Linked DNA regions of Homo sapiens: region 2 is linked to region 1. Evidence: promoter capture Hi-C in 16 types of primary human blood cells and fetal thymus (Javierre and others, 2016). All regions are on one chromosome and are shown on one strand. Each heading gives the region's core, a stretch centred on a gene start or on the middle of the fragment in contact. The rest is flanking DNA. Distances are from core to core; before and after follow the strand shown.

Region 1 (4,600 bases), core at 807-3,306:
GGCCCCTCATCTCACCCCATCTAGGCCTGTAGGAGGTCATGGTTATATAAACTCAGGACCGCCACACCATTATTTATGTCTCTAAGCCACAAGGTGGGGAAACCAGAGAAAAGGCAGATGGGAAAATGCCGGCGGAGGGTGGGGGAGTTCCAAGGCCAGGATGCTCCCGTGCATGGAGAATAAGACCACAGGATGCAAGAAAATAACCCCTTGGAGCTGTTATCCCTCAGGCCCCAACATGTATGGAGCTGGCAAAATCCCACAAGAGCTGAGCGCTGGGACTCTGGAGGCCTACCTGGGCTTGAGCGCTGATCCTCATCCTTCTGTAAAATGGTTACTTGAGTATAATAGGTACCTGATGTACATACAATAAATACTCAATAATGGAGTTGTATTTCTACACAGATATTTTGGTTTTAACCAGTTCCCCACCAGGTTCAAAGAAAAGATGAGCAGATTCTACTTGCCGCTGCCTTCTCACAGGACGTCCCTCCCCACCCATTCCAGGCTGACCCATCTGGACTAGATGCTGAGCCAGGGCTGGGGGTAAGGCCAAAGGGGTCTGGGCCTGTGGGGGTCGGGGGGCTAAAGATTGCAAGAACCCCTCCCACCTCTCCCATGCTCTTCTTTGGAGGGAGAGAGGGAGCTCTGTGTCCACGGGTAGGAAGAAGAAATTGCCAACTGACACCAGTACAGTTTATTCACAAATAAATAAATTCACATTAGGCAGAGCCTCCTGCTTGCCTCAAAGTGTCTAGCCCTATGGGTCCCTCCATGGAGGGAGGGGCTGAGAAGGGCCGCCGCGGTGGGGACGGCTCTCACCCGCAGGAATGCCCCCGTCGGGATCGCCCGTGCCCTCTTCCAGGAAAGGCAGTCTGCCAAGGAACCACTTCGAAGGTGCTGAGGCCAAAAAGCCTCGGTGCTCACAGAGACGGCGTCAGTTGTCCCTTGTCACTTGGGCTCCTCAGGCAGCCACTCCAGAGGCGAGAGGGGCATCCAGGTCTCCAACAGAGCCAGCACGTCGCCCGGAAGGAGCTGTAGGGAGAGACGGAACAGCGCAGCCCTCAAGCACTGGTGGCCTTGTGCGGGTGTCCGCGCTCGTGGGCTCCACTCTCAGGGGGCCCCTAGCGAGGGGAGACCCAGTCCTCTGCGTGGCCTTTCCCTGCCTTCGCTTCTTGGAGCCCTGGGCATACTATGGTGGCCAGGTGGCCAGGCTGCCGGCGGGGAGCAGCAGGGTGCCTGGTCCTCACCTTGGCGGGCGGTGGGGCTGTGCGCGGGGGCACGGACGAAGGGGGCGCGGGGAAGGGGACACTAACCGGGGACGGTGGGCTTGGCTCCATCGCCTGCCCTTCAGGGCACGCCGCCTCGGCGAACAGCGCAGGCGGGTCGCGCGGCTCGGGTGCAGCTCGGGCTCCGGGGCAGGCAGGCGGGGATCCCCAGGACGCCCCGGCGCGGACGGCGGATACCAGGCCCAGCCCGCGCCCCTGCCCCTGCCCCTCAGCCTGCGTCCGTGTCTGCATCTGCGCGGGGCAGTCGTCGGGGCACAGCGGGCAGCCCCGAGGGGACCCCGCGTCACCGCGCTGCCGGCACCGGCGCTGGAGACTCTCCTCGCTGAGGCCTAGCACGGCCGACAGGTGGCCGATATAGCGGATAGCCAGGCGCAGCGTCTCGATCTTGGTCAGGCTCTGGCCCGCGGGCGCCACGGACGGCGGTAGAAAGCGGCGCAGCTCGTGCAGGGCGCGGGCCAGCGTGCGCATGCGCAGTTTCTCCCGCTCACTGGCGCTCTGCCTCTGCCCGCTGCCCAGGCGGCTGCTGCGCGCGCCGCGCCTACCTACGGAGGGGGCGCGGGGGTCCCGGAGGGTGCCTGGCCGCGCGGGGCTCGCCACGGGGCTGTCGGCTGGGGTGCTGCCCCATGAGTCTGGGGACGAGACGAGGGAGCGGCCGCAGTCCTTGTCGGAGGGCGGCGGCCGCCGAGTTGGGCCCCAGGCCGCAGAGAGCATCCAGGACTCGGAGAGCGGCGGGCACAGGGGCTGGGCCATGGCAGCGGCGGCGCGTCTGGGGGCCGGCGGCCGGCGGCCGCTTTATGCCGAGCCCGAGGTGTGAAGTGGCCCCTTCCAGGCCGCATCAGCACATCAAAGTGGGCTCGGGGCTTGGAGGGGGCGGAGCCTGACCCTTTGAATCCACGGCGGGGGGCCAAGGTGCCAGCCCCTTGACTGCGCCTGTTTCGCCCCACCTGGGCCCTCGCTTGGGCGCCCGACCCAGCCTCTCGGCCTTCCCGCCTGCGCCCAGTGTTGGGTGAAGCCCGGGGCGTTGGGCCAGCCCTGCAGGTTAAAGGAAGCGGGGTCAGAAAAACGAAATCTAGATCCTAGGTTTGGGGCCTGCCTTCACCTGTTGGGGACCTTATGCAAATTCTTAGTTCTTTTGCACCTTAGCTTCCAATTTGTATAATGAGAGCCTCAGGGCATGCGCCAATTGGACAGTGGAGTAGAGTAAGGACCAGGAGCAGGGACCCTCATTCCCTCTAAAGGTGGAGAAAACAGTAAACCACTTCTCCTTTGAGGCAGGATGGCCCTGGGTAGACCCTTCCCTGGTAAGAACATGTGGACAGTGCAAGGAAGCTTGCACCCCGGCAAATTCAATAAGCTGCCGAGTCTGGTCAGGATGCTGGACCTTCTGAGCAGAGGGAGGGGGTTAAGCCTGCTCCAACCCCAGGCCACCTCTAGCCTGGCAAGGTCTGGAGCTTGGCCTGTTGCCACAGCTGTCACCACTGGCCTTTACCTGATGTTCTGCCGCTATTGGACAGGTATAACAGGTTTTCCCAATGAAATGTGAGTGGAAATGACGCAGCAAAGGCATTTGACAAAATCCAACACCCTTCGTGATGAAAATTCTCAGCAAACTAAGAATAGAGAGGAATTTCATCAACCTGATGAAAGGCTCCTACAAAGAACCTACAGGTAGCCTCATACTGAGTAGTGAAAGACTGAAATCTTCCCCCCACCCCCCGATTGCAGGAACAAAGCGAGGGTGTCTCTCTTACCACTCCTATTCAACATTGTACCAGATGGAGGATCTAGGCTATGCAATTAGGAAACAAAAGACATACAGGTCAGAAAGGAAGAAATAAAACTCTTTTCGCAGGTTATGGCAGCTCTGGGCCCTGCTGCGCATGAGCCTGACCAATTTAAAGCGGAATCCTGGCTCCAGGAAACCCATGAGACGACCAAAAGGTCGGAGAAGAGGTAGAAAATGCGGCAGAGGCCATAAAAGAGAAAGGCAGAGAGGAAACTGGCTCTGCTGGGCTTTGGGGATGGCCAGACTCTATTTTACATCGGAATCCCAAAATACAGATTTAATGAAGGACTTAGCTTCAGACACCAGTATCAACCTTTAAGTATCAATAGACTGTAATATGTTACTGATTTGGGTCGTGTTGATCCTACTCAACCTATTGACTTAACCCAGCTTGTCAATGGAAGAGGTGTGACCATTCAGCCACTTAAAGAGGATTATGGTGTTCAGCTGGTCGAAAAGGCCGCAGACACCTTTCAGGTGAAAGTTAATATTGGGCCGGGCGCGGTGGCTCACACCTGTAATCCCAGCACTTTGGCAGGCCAAGGGGGGTGGATCATGAGGTCAGGAGATTGAGACCACCCTGGCCACCGTGGTGAAACCCCGTCTTATTAAAAATGCAAAAATTAGCCAGGCATGGTGGCACGTGCCTGTAGTCCCAGCTACTTGGGAGGCTGAGGTAGGAGAATCACTTGAACCCGGGAGGTGGAGGTTGCAGTGAGCTGAGATCATGCCACTGCACTCCAGTCTGATGACAGAGTGAGACCCCCTGTCCAAAAAAAAAAAAAAAAAAAAAAAAGTTAATATTGAAGTACAGTTGGCTTCAGAACTAGCTATTGCTGCAATTGAAAAAAATGGTGGTGGTGTCACTACAGCCTTACAGGATCCAAGAAGTCTGGAAATTCTATCCAAACCTGTTCCATTCTTTTTGGAGACAACCCATTCCAAAAAGAATGCTTCCTTCTGAAGCACTGGTACCATATTCCACCAATGCAAAGAATCGTGGGAACCTGGCAGATCCTGCCAAATTTCCTGAAGCACAACTTGAGCTTGCCAGGAAGGACAGTTCTAATTTACTGGATATCACGAAAGAAGAACTCTTCAAATGTTCAGTACTCAGAAGGATCCAAGGCAGATTTTCTTTGAGTTTGCTCCAGGATGGGTGCTGAATATAGTAGATAAGAAAATCCTAACATCTACAGATGAAAATCTCCTCAAGTACTAGAGCTCATGAATTCCCATCCAAGAAAGCAGAGTTGTTAAAGAATATTAGAAAAGGGCCAGGCACAATGGCTAACACCTGTAATCTCAGCACTTTGGGAGGCCGAAGAGGGTGGATCGTGAGATCAGGAGTTTGAGACCAGCCTGGCCAACATGGCGAAACCCCGTCTCTACTAAAAATACAAAAATTAGCCAGGCATGGTGGCAGACGCCGGCAATCCCAGCTACTCGGGAGGCTGAGGCAGGATAATCGCTTGAACCCGGGAGGCGGAAGTTATGGTAAGCCAAGATCGCTCCATTGCACTGC
Region 2 (4,600 bases), core at 800-3,299, 530 kb after region 1:
CGAGGCCACACCACTGCACTCCGGCCTTGGTGACAGAGACTCTGCCTCGAAAGATAAAAATAATAATGAAAGTAATATTGGGATTATACTGTACATTCTTTCTTACATGTATGGTGAATATATTTTGACAATAAATATCTTTACATCAGTTAAAATAACCACCTCATATTTTGTTTTATGGAATATAATATTATTTTGTTGTATGAAGTCAAATATTAGATTGAACCATATATCTGACCATTTTTTACCTATAAAAATAGCAGTTACCTGTAGTCCCAGCTACTTAGGAGGCTGAGGCAGGAGAATCCCTTGAGCACAGGAGTTCAAGGCTACAGTGAGCTATATAATTATTCTTTTGTTGTGGGACATTTTGGTCATTTCTAAATTTTCACCACTGTTGTGATAAACCTCTTTTAGCGAATCTTTTTTGTCTTTTTTATTGACATATAACTTTATCATTTCCTTAGAATTCCCAGAATTAGAATTGGTGAGTCAAAGAATAGATACTCTTTTTTTTTTTTTTTTTTTTGAGACAGAGTCTCGCTCTGTCACCCAGGCTGGAGGGCAGTGGCATGATCTTGGCTCACTGCAACCTCCGCCTCCTGGGTTCAAGTGATTATCCTGCCTCAGCCTCCCAAGTAGCTGAGATTAAAGGCACCTGCCACCACGCCCAGCTAATTTTTTGTATTTTTAGTAGAGATGGGGCTTCACCATGTTGGCCAGGCTGGTCTTGGACTCCTCACCTCAAGTGATCTGCCCACCTTGGCCTCCCAAAGTGCCGGGATGACAGGCGTGAGCCACTGTACCCTGCCAGGAGGTGACATTTGAACAGAGCCTTGAAGATGCTGTGTAGAAAGTCTGACAGGTGGCCAGGTGTAGTGGCTCACGCCTGTCATCCCAGCACTTTGGGAGGCCAAGGTGAGAGGATCACTTGAGGCTAGAAGTTTGAGGCCAGCCTGGGCAGCATAGTGAGACCCCGTCTCCTAAAAAAAAAAAAAAATTAGGCCGGGCGCGGTGCCTCACGCCTGTAATCCCAGCATTTTGGGAGGCTGAGGCGGGCAGATCACGAGGTCAGATCGAGACCATCCTGGCTAACATGGTGAAACCCTGTCTGTACTAAAAATACAAAAAATTAGCCGGGCATGGTGGTGGGCGCCTGTGGTCCCAGTTACTCGGGAGGCTAAGGCAGGGGAATGGCGTGAACCCAGGAGGCGGAGCTTGCAGTGAGCGGAGATCGCGCCACTGCACTCCAGCCTAGGTGACAGAGCGAGACTCCGTCTTAAAAAAAAAAAAAAAAAAAAAAATTAGCCCAGCATGGTGGCCCTTGCCTGTGGCCCCAGCTGCTCGGGAGGCTGAGGTGGGAGGATCACTTGAGGCCAGGGGTTTGAGGCTGCAATGAGCCACGACTGTGCCACTGCACTCCAGCCGGAGTGACAGAGCAAGACCCTGCCTCAAAAGAAAAAAAAAGTTTGATAGGGCATGTGGAACAAGAGACAGGACCTGAGGGAAGAGCATGAATGAAGGTATTGAAGAGTAGAGGGACACTGTGTGTTGGGAACTGAGTGGTGTGGACTGCACAGTGGTGGGAGGAAGGGAAGAGGAGAGTTTCCAAAAAATAGTTGGGACCAGACTGGGAAAGGCCTTGAATGCCTTCCCAAGGAGTTAGGAATTTATTCCACACCTGGTGCCCATGAAGGAAGCAGATTGCTTCAAGGTTAAGCTCAGGCTTTGGAGACAGACTCTCCAGGTTTGGATTCAGGCCCTGTCACTTATTTGCCATGGGGCTGAGTTCACCCAGCCTCAGTTTCTTCATCTGTAAAATAGGAGTGATAATCACAGGATTGTTGTGGGGTTTCAATGAGAGAATGCGTGTAAAATGTTTCGTACAATTACTGCCACTTATTTCTCAATAATTGCTGGCTTTGGTCATTAATAAAAGAGGGAAACAACATTATCAGATCTGTATTTAGAAGGAGTCTGGCAGATAGGGACAGATTTGGGCCAAAATCTCAAGCCAGTATTTTTCAAGGGTACACTAAACCTTGGTACATATCTAATTATAATACATTTTTTAAAAGGGTTAAATGAGTACAATTGAAACGGCAGAGTTCTTTTTTTTTGTTTGTTTGTTTTGAGACAGAGTCTAACTCTGTTGCCTAGGCTGGAGTACAACGGCACGGTCCTGGCTCACTGAAACCTCCGCCTCCCAAGTTCAAGCAATTATTCTGCCTCAACCTCCCAAGTAGCTAGGACTACAGGCACGTGCCACCACACCTGGCTAATCTTTGTATTTTTAGTAGAGATGGGGTTTCACCATGTTGGCCAGGCTGGTTTCGAACTCCTGACCTCGTGATCCACCCACCTTGGCCTCCCAAAGTGCTGGGATTACAGGCATGAGCCACCATGCCCAGCCAGTTGTTTTTTTAGGAAAGTCATTGTAGTACACATGGCTAGCCACACATGGCAGGCGTGCTGGCACCCAGAGAAAGAGAAAGCCAAAGCTGTCCATCTTGCAGACCGACAGGAGGGAGCCAGGACACAGCTGGGCTTGCTCGTGCCCAGAGAGAAAGAGTTAAGCTGCTTAACCTGAAGGCAAGGGAGAGTCGGCTGCACAGCTGTGTTGGGGGGCAGCTGGCTCAAGCAGCTGAGACAGGGCTAATAGTGTTAAGAGTAAGCTGCTAATAAGAGAGCTAGTGTAAGAAAGCTGTTAATGAGAGCTGCTGCTGAATAAAACTATCTTTCACCTGCCTACAGCCCCCCCACCCGGAATATTCTTTCTGCTTACCCACCCACTCCCCTCAGACTTCAGCATGGGCAGGACCTGGACCCTGGGATCTGACACACATCTCTACTAAAAATACAAAAATTAGCCAGTATGGTGGCACATGCCTGTAATTCCAGCTACCAGGGTGGCTGAGGCATGATGATCACCTGAACCCAGGAGTCAGAGGTTGCAGTGAGCTAAGACTGTGTCACTGCACTCTAGCCTGGGCAACAGAGCCTGACCCTGTGTCAAGACAAAAAAAACTTAAAGACCATTTGTCCAGTATAAACTCTTTCAAAATATATACTCAAGCATAGAAAAAAAGTCTAGAAATGTCATCAATGGTAATTTCAGGAAAGAATTTTAAGGTGACGTTTTTTGGTTATCTGCATTTTTTTTTCTTTTATTTTTTTGAGATAGGGTCTTGCTGTGTCACCCAGGCTGGAGTGCAGTGATGCGATCAGGGCTCACTGCAGCCTTGACCTCCCAGGCTTAAGCCATCCTCCCACCTCAGTCTCCTGAGTAGCTGGGACTACAGGCGCAAGCCACCACACCTGGCTAATTTTTGCATTCTTGTATTTTTTGCAAAGATGGGGTTTTGCCATGTTGCCCAAGCTGGTCTCAAGCGATCCGCCCACCTTGGCCTCCCAGAGTGCTGGGATTACAAGTGTGACCTATGTGTGCCAGGCCTACGTTTTCTTTTCTGTAATGACCATGACCATGGATTTCATGTACCAACATTTTTCTAGCAATAATATTTACAAAGCATACTATGAAAAATGTTCAGAGAAAAAGAAGAATACACAACTGTAAAAATCATATATAACTAGTTTTCTTTTTGTTTGTTTTTAAAGCCAAAAAAGAAACAAAGTATAGATTGTCCAGGAAGATAGTTACTTCCACTTTGTGTTTCTCTGGTGAACTCATTAGGAACTCTAAAAAGTTCCAGGAGGGCTGGGCATGGTGGCTCATGCCTGTAATCCCAGCACTTTGGGAGGCCGAGGTGGGCAGATCACGAGGTCAGGAGATTGAGACCATCCTGGCTAACACGGTGAAACCCTGTCTCTACTAAAAATACAAAAAATTACCCAGGCATGGTGGCAGGCGCCTGTAATCCCAGGTACTCAGGAGGCTGAGGCAGGAGAATCGCTTGAACCCGGGAGGCAGAGGTTGCAGTGAGCCAAAATCGTGCCACTGCATTCCAGCCTGGGCGAGAGTGAGACTCTGCCTCAAAAAAAAAAAAAAAAAAAAATGCAGAAGTAGAATCATGGGGTCAAAGTACCCTTGCTTTAACTTCTGGTTCAGATAATTTTAACAACTTACATTGTCACCAGCAAGGTCTTTGACTATATGAGCAAGTCTCACGTTAAAGCATTTCTCATTTGACATTAGCTGCCCAGCTTTCCGCTGATACGTTGACTCCAGGAGGCTCCTTGAGTTCTGAGTGTTTGGCTGGCCTCTGGTGGCCCCATTATTATTTTCTGCCAGGTGAAGGTCAGTCACCTGCACACAGATCTCATCACTCATGATATGCTGCAGCTGGAATCAAAGGCAAGCTGTTAGTGAACACAAAACATTTCTCCATTACACAGTCAACGTTCCTTTGACTCAACTCAAAAAAGGTTTTGTTTTTTTTTTGGCTGGCAATTTTAGAAAATTCATCACACAAACCACTGTATCATTTTCTCGGACAATAATCAATCCAAGATTTTCAACCATATCTGTGGTCCATTGTAAAACTTTCATCTCTATTTAAAATAAAAATCATAGAGAACTCAGGTTAATGTGCTGTTTAAAATTCTAAGGATCTTTAAATAATTTTCCATGGGTCATATT

Evidence for each region. The method cuts DNA at HindIII sites, captures the fragments that hold promoters and counts their contacts. A CHiCAGO score of 5 or more calls a contact.
Region 2: a contact is called between a fragment that was not itself captured here and the fragment with the promoter of MESP1 in region 1, in 1 of 17 cell types (M0 macrophages). The highest score is 5.4, in M0 macrophages.

The regions. Positions count from the first base shown.
Region 1 is chr15:89,749,193-89,753,792 of GRCh38, forward strand. It overlaps MESP1 (mesoderm posterior bHLH transcription factor 1), which reads right to left and starts at 2,057. Exons shown (of 2, transcript NM_018670.4): 1 at 1,317-2,057; 2 at 683-1,035. The coding sequence starts at 2,039. The coding sequence ends at 952. It also overlaps the pseudogene MRPL15P1. RefSeq lists silencers at 1,328-1,617, 1,678-2,107. The HindIII fragment of the contact is 7,264 bases long and covers 1-2,616 here.
Region 2 is chr15:90,277,723-90,282,322 of GRCh38, forward strand. It overlaps the pseudogene PERPP2. Among named protein-coding and RNA genes, the nearest start is that of NGRN, 14 kb to the left of the region's middle. The HindIII fragment of the contact is 5,724 bases long and covers 1-4,600 here.